2 separate regions of the Homo sapiens genome follow, and region 2 is linked to region 1. Evidence: promoter capture Hi-C in human tissues and cell types (Jung and others, 2019). All regions are on one chromosome and are shown on one strand. The core of a region is centred on a gene start or on the middle of the fragment in contact, and the rest is flanking DNA. Distances in the headings are between cores, read along the strand shown. Region 1 holds the start of AP5Z1 (adaptor related protein complex 5 subunit zeta 1). Region 2 overlaps GNA12 (G protein subunit alpha 12).

Region 1 (2,900 bases), core at 185-2,684:
CACTCCACCGACTCCCATCCACCGCTCACCATCCACCGATTCCCATCTCTTCATTCTCTGCACCAGGTGCCCTCAGACATCACTGGGCGCCCTAGGGCATCTCAAAGCCATGTTTGGAACTCCTGCAGGAAGCCCTCCCTCCTCCTCCTCCTTCCTTCCATCCAGGGGTCTTCTCGGGGCTTATCCCTTCAAGGCCTAACCTTGACCCACCCTATCTACGCAACATTGATTCCCACCCCTACCCTATTCCCCAGAACCTTCAGCAGTGCCTAGCGCAGCTAGGACTCAATCATCGCTTGTCCACTTAATGAATGACTCTTGGCACAAATTTCCTCGTCCTTTTCTGCCCCAGACAGACACCCCACAAACATGAAGTTACCCTTGATTTTTCCACTTTCTTCCTCCTGCCTGCAAATTCCTCAATCACAGGTGGTGCAAATCCTACCTCTAAATGGTACTGAATCTGCCTACTTTCGGGGCAACCTCCCTTACCTGGACCACAACTGCACCAGCCTCCTTTCTCCCTCAGGAGCTTCCCAATCCATTATCTCCCCTGCGGCCAGAGATCAGTTTCCTCCTGGGGTGCATTTAAGCCATAGGAAGCAGATCGCTACCCTAGGCCCGTCCCTCCCCACCCCTTGGTCTGGACACCCTCTGGGCTCATCTTAGGCCGCAGTCGCCGAAGCCTTCCTCCTCCGGTTGGACCCCCAACCAGGTCAGGCTGTCATAGCGTTTATCATGACGCTGGCGTGTCGCCCTGTGTCCCTCGGCCGTCTGCAGGATGGCAAACTTATGGCCAGGGCCCAGCACATTTGGGCACCCAACACATCCGTTAGAATGAACAGAAACTTCCCCTCTCCGAGCCTGTGGCCTCATCTGTAAAACAGAGATCGCGAGATCCCATGAATACCGTGGGGATTGAATAAGGGATTTTTTCGTTTCAAGCAGCAGGAACAGCGCGGGATGGGTGCTCAATAAATGGGAGCTCAAAAAATCCCCAAAACTGCCCAGAGCCGCGGCTATTCCTTGCAAACTGCTGGACACTGCTGGGCTCAGCCCACAAGTGTCGGAGTTTGCATCAGATTTTCAGGTCGTACTTAGCAAAGGGACTCCCGCACGACAAAGCTGTTTACGAAACAGAAACCAGAACTGGGGCAGTGACACTTTGGGGCCAGCAATGCCCTCTCCCAAAGCCCCAGGCGCCCAATTTCCGCCGAAATGCTTTCCGGGGTCGAAGGGCGCCGGGGCTCCAGAGTGCCGAGGTTCCGGGGTCGCGCGATTCCGCAGCTCCCAGGCGCCGACCCGGACCCCCGGCCGCGGCACCTACGCCCCGCCCCAGTCGCTCCACGCCAAAGCCCATTGGTCGGCAACCTGTCCCTCCTGCTCATGTGATGCGGCACGTGACGCAGCCACGTAAGGCCGCTGCGCTCACGTGACGCGGTCCCGGAAGTTGACCGGGGTGCGGAGCTCCTGGGCTGCAGCTCCTGGAGTTTCCGAGGTTCGTGCGCGTCTGGTGGCGGCGGCGTGATGTTCTCGGCAGGAGCGGAGAGTTTGCTCCACCAGGCCAGGTACGGGGGAGCTGCGGCCCCGGCCCTCCTTCCTGCATCTCTCCCTAGGGGCACACGGGGGTGGGTCTCACAGGGCAGGGGCTTGGGCGCCAGCCTTGCAGGAACCCGACTGGACTCGCCCTCGAGACTTGGGGATCGGGTAAGGCAACACGGCGGCCAGGCTTGGGGTGAGGAGGTCGGGGAGGGTCATGGTGGGTCCCCGGAGGAGGTGACACTTGAGCAGAGTCTTGGTGAGTGAAAGCAAGTGGGGTGGGACCCAGTCGACAGTTTAGTCAAAGGCTTGGCGGTGAGAACTCCGCGTCTGGCAGGAAATCGGGCAGCCGGGAGATTTCAGTGCCTCACAGTCAAGAACGCAAAGTCACAGTGTCCGGAGGCCTGCTAAGGAATAAGGCTGTGTGCCAGGCTGGGGAGCTGGAGGCCATCCGAGGGCTTTGCGGAACCGTGGGAGGGTTTTGTGACTTAAAAAGATCTCTCTTGCGCGGATGTATTAGCTAGGCTGAGAAATCACCCTCCAGGCTGGTTTCAGGCTGTGTCTGGACTCCCAGTAACGAGTGAGTAGCTCCTTCCTCACCAACTAACCAGTCATGGGGGAAAACAGTGTAAGCCAGGACTGAACAGACTCACGGTCCACCAAACAGGCAAAGACTTCATACTACATGTTTAAAAGAAGAAAATGCTGACCGGGCGTGGTGGCTCACGCCTGTAATCCCACCACTTTGGGAGGCCAAGGCAGGCGGATCACCTGAGGTCAGGAGTTCGAGACCAGCGTGCCCAACATGAGGAAACCACGTCTCTACTGAAAATACAAAAAAAAAAAAAAAAAAAAAAATTAGCCGGGCGTGGTGGTGGGTGACTGTAATCCCAGCTACTCGGGAGGCTGAGGCAGGAGGATTGCTTGAACCTGTGAGGTGGAGGTTACAGTGAGCTGAGATGGCGCCACTGCACTCCAGGCTGGGGGACAGAGCGAAACTCCGTCTCAAAAGAAAAAAGAAAAAAAGTAAAGAAAATACAGCCAGCACTACAGCCCCTTGGTAAACGTAAACAAACTTGGTGAGGTGAGAGGCCGAAGCAGGAGAAGTGCATGAACCCAGGAGGCCGAGGGTGCAGTGAGCCAAGATCGCACCACTGGACTCCAGTCTGGGTGACAGAACGAGACTCCATGTCAAAACAAACAAGCAAACCTGGACTCAGAGCTAGACCAATTGGTGGGAAAGATTCGGGTGGTTGAAATTGCTGTGATTATAGTGAGTGAGGTCTTGAAGGCAGGTTAAGTTCTAAAGCCCGAACAGGACAAAAATCTCTGATCAAAATAACCCTTAAGAGTCCACTCAT
Region 2 (2,900 bases), core at 195-2,694, 2.0 Mb before region 1:
AGACTGGAGGGAGGCCTCCAGGAGCCGAGGGAGGTCAGAAAAGAAACCGGACCTCAGTCCTACAGCTGCAAGGACCTGAACCCTTGCCACAACCTGAATGAACTTGGATGCCGATGCATTCCCAGAGCCTCCAAAAAGGAACACAGTCCGGCTGGAACCTTCCTGTTAGTCTCATGACACTCAGGGCAACCAACTGAGCCACACTGTGCCCAGACCTCTGACCCAAGCAACTAGGAGCTAACAAATAAATGTTTTAAGTCCCGAAGCCTGTGGTAATTTGTTACAGTGGCAACAGAAAACCAAAACAGCTGTGGAGGTGTATGTGACTCATTACTGAAAGGTGAGTTTATAAGTGAGAAACACAATAACCAAAAGCAGTCCCCTTAAGAAATTCCCTAGTCTGCATAAAAGACAAATAATCCAAATTAAAAAAATGGGCAAAGGATCTGTATAGCCATATCTCCAAAGAAGATACGCAAATGGCCCATAAGCACATGAAAAGATGCTATACCTCATTCACCATCGAGGAAAGGCAAACCGAAAACGGGATGGCTGGAATTCAAAGGACAGATAAACACAAGCACGGTTAGACCCCAAAGACGTTATATTGGTGGGAACAGAAATGTTGCGGCCAATTCAGAAACACTCGGGTAGCTCGTCAAAATGTTAAACATAAAGCAACCATTTGACTCAGCAATTCCACTCCTAGGAATACACCCAAGAGAAAACATGTTCACACCAAAACCCGCACATGGATGTTTATAGCAACATCATTCATAACACACAAAAGATGGAAAGAACCTAGATGCCACTGACTGAGGCACGGATAAACAAAACGGGGCGTAGCAAAAGGGAATGCTATTCGGCCGCTTAGAGGGATGACGATGCCACGCTACAGCATGGATGAACTTTGAAGAAACGATGCTAAGAAGTCCGTCGCAGAAGACAACATACTGTATGATTCCATTTACATAAAATGTTCAGAAAAGGCAAATCAACAGCGTCGAGAGAAATCCACGGTGTCGAAAGTGGGCTGGTGGCCGCCCGGGGCTGGGGCTGGGGCAGGAGGAAAATGTGCAGTGGCTGCAGGGTTTCTTTCTGGGGTGATGAAAATGTTTTAAAAATTGACTGTGGTGATGGCTGCACAGCTCTGTAAATAGACTGAAGTCCACTGAATTGTAGGCTTTAAATGAGGGCATGGTATGATATGTGAGTTATAGCTCAATAAAGCTTTTTTTTTTTTTTTTTTAAGCTGAGGCCAGGCATGGTGGCTCATGCCTGTAATCCCAGCACTTTGGGAGGCTGAGGTGAGAGGATCGCTTGAAACTAGCCCAGGAGACATGCAAAACCTATCGCTACAAAAAAATAAAAAATAAAATTAAAAAAGCTAAAAAATTGAAAAAGAAAGTCCCAAGCGCTGTAAAGCACAGAGCACGGAAGTGACACACAGTGTGGCAGCTGCTTGTTGTCCAGACCTGCCCCACCGGCCAGTCACCAGCTCCTGACTCACTGACCACCCTGGCCTCTGCCCTGTAATCTTCCAAAGAGGAAACTCCAACTGTGTCTTTTAAAACTTTTTACTTTAGAGACAGGATCTCACTCTGTCACCCAGGCTGGAATGCAGTGGTGCAATCACAGCTCTCTGCAGCTTTCAAGCTCCTGGACTCAAGCCATCCTCTTGCCTCAGACTCCCATGTAGCTGGGATTACAGGCATGCACCACCATGGCCAGCTAATTTCTAAAAATTTCTGATAGAGATGGGATCTCACTATGTTGCTCAGGCTGGTCTTGAACTGCTGACTTCAAGAAACCTCCTGCCTTGGACTCCCAAAGTGCCAGGATTACAGGCGTGAGCCACCGCGCCCGGCCTACATCCATGTTTTCATCAACATGGACAAAACTCCACAGGAATCACTCCCATTTCACAAAAATGTTGTCTAGGTGAAAGATGCCAATCAATTATTCTCTGGTTAATGTTCTGCTTATTCTTGGCTTAAGAATTTTTGTGATGACGCTTAGATTACAGATGTTCTGCAAGACAGGCTGAGAAACAGAATCATTCCAATCACTCCTGCTGTATCCTGAGGGGAGACTCTCCGCCTGTTCAACACAGGGACACGCTGCCTCCCGTGGCAAGGTGACTGTCTTGCTGCTGACTCGGGCAAAAAGACCATGAGAATGAATTCACCAACCAGGGTTCCCTTCCCTCGTAAATACTGTGAGAAAATGGATGTCAGTCTCCAGCTGACCGCAGAGAAATCACGGCCAGGTGTTGGCACTTACAGAGAAGAATGAATACAGAACTGCTTTAATCATCCACTCAGGAAACTCCCCAATTGTATCAATGACTCTATATAAGGAAGCGAGGCTTGCAACTCCAAACGAACTCACTGGGTGGCCCCAAGCAAAACAATTCACCCCAAACGGTGTGCCCTATGGACAAGAGAAACTCCTGCAGTTATTCTATTTTCTCAGCTCCCTGCTCCTCGTTTTCCTCCACCTTAGCAAGACAGTGATGAACAATGCTAGGTAAGCTCTTTCCCTTCCTGTGGCAAGTCTAGTAGCAAAGGGCTAGTTGCCAGGAAACATGAGGTTACACCATATTCCTGCTTAGTGGAATCCTGACCTTCATGTTACTAAAACATGAAAAATACTTTGTTTACAAGATCATCAATATTAAAATTTGGCTTTCAAGTTCCCTAAGACCTTTTTCCTGTATTTATTACAAGAATTTATTTATGCATCCAACAAATACTCAAATGCCTACTATGTGCTGCCATGGTGCCAGGCCCTAGGGACACAGGGGAATCAGACCAGGCCCTCGCATGCCCGCCCAGGCTGACATTCCAGGATGTGATGACTAGAACTATGTAAAATGTGATATACACATCAACAAGGGT

Evidence for each region. Contacts are between HindIII fragments. The study calls those that stand out against the background at their distance.
Region 2: a contact is called between a fragment that was not itself captured here and the fragment with the promoter of AP5Z1 in region 1, in 1 of the 25 tissues and cell types used here (spleen).

Annotation. Positions count from the first base shown.
Region 1 is chr7:4,774,189-4,777,088 of GRCh38, forward strand. AP5Z1 (adaptor related protein complex 5 subunit zeta 1) reads left to right here and starts at 1,435. Exons shown (of 17, transcript NM_014855.3): 1 at 1,435-1,568. The coding sequence starts at 1,528. RefSeq lists enhancers at 177-853, 854-1,530, 904-953, 994-1,083, 1,514-1,583 and 2 more and a silencer at 1,264-1,393. The HindIII fragment of the contact is 20,755 bases long and covers 1-2,900 here.
Region 2 is chr7:2,819,171-2,822,070 of GRCh38, forward strand. All of the region lies in intron 1 of GNA12 (G protein subunit alpha 12), which reads right to left. Among named protein-coding and RNA genes, the nearest start is that of GNA12, 24 kb to the right of the region's middle. RefSeq lists enhancers at 1,837-2,526, 2,527-2,900. The HindIII fragment of the contact is 6,363 bases long and covers 1-2,900 here.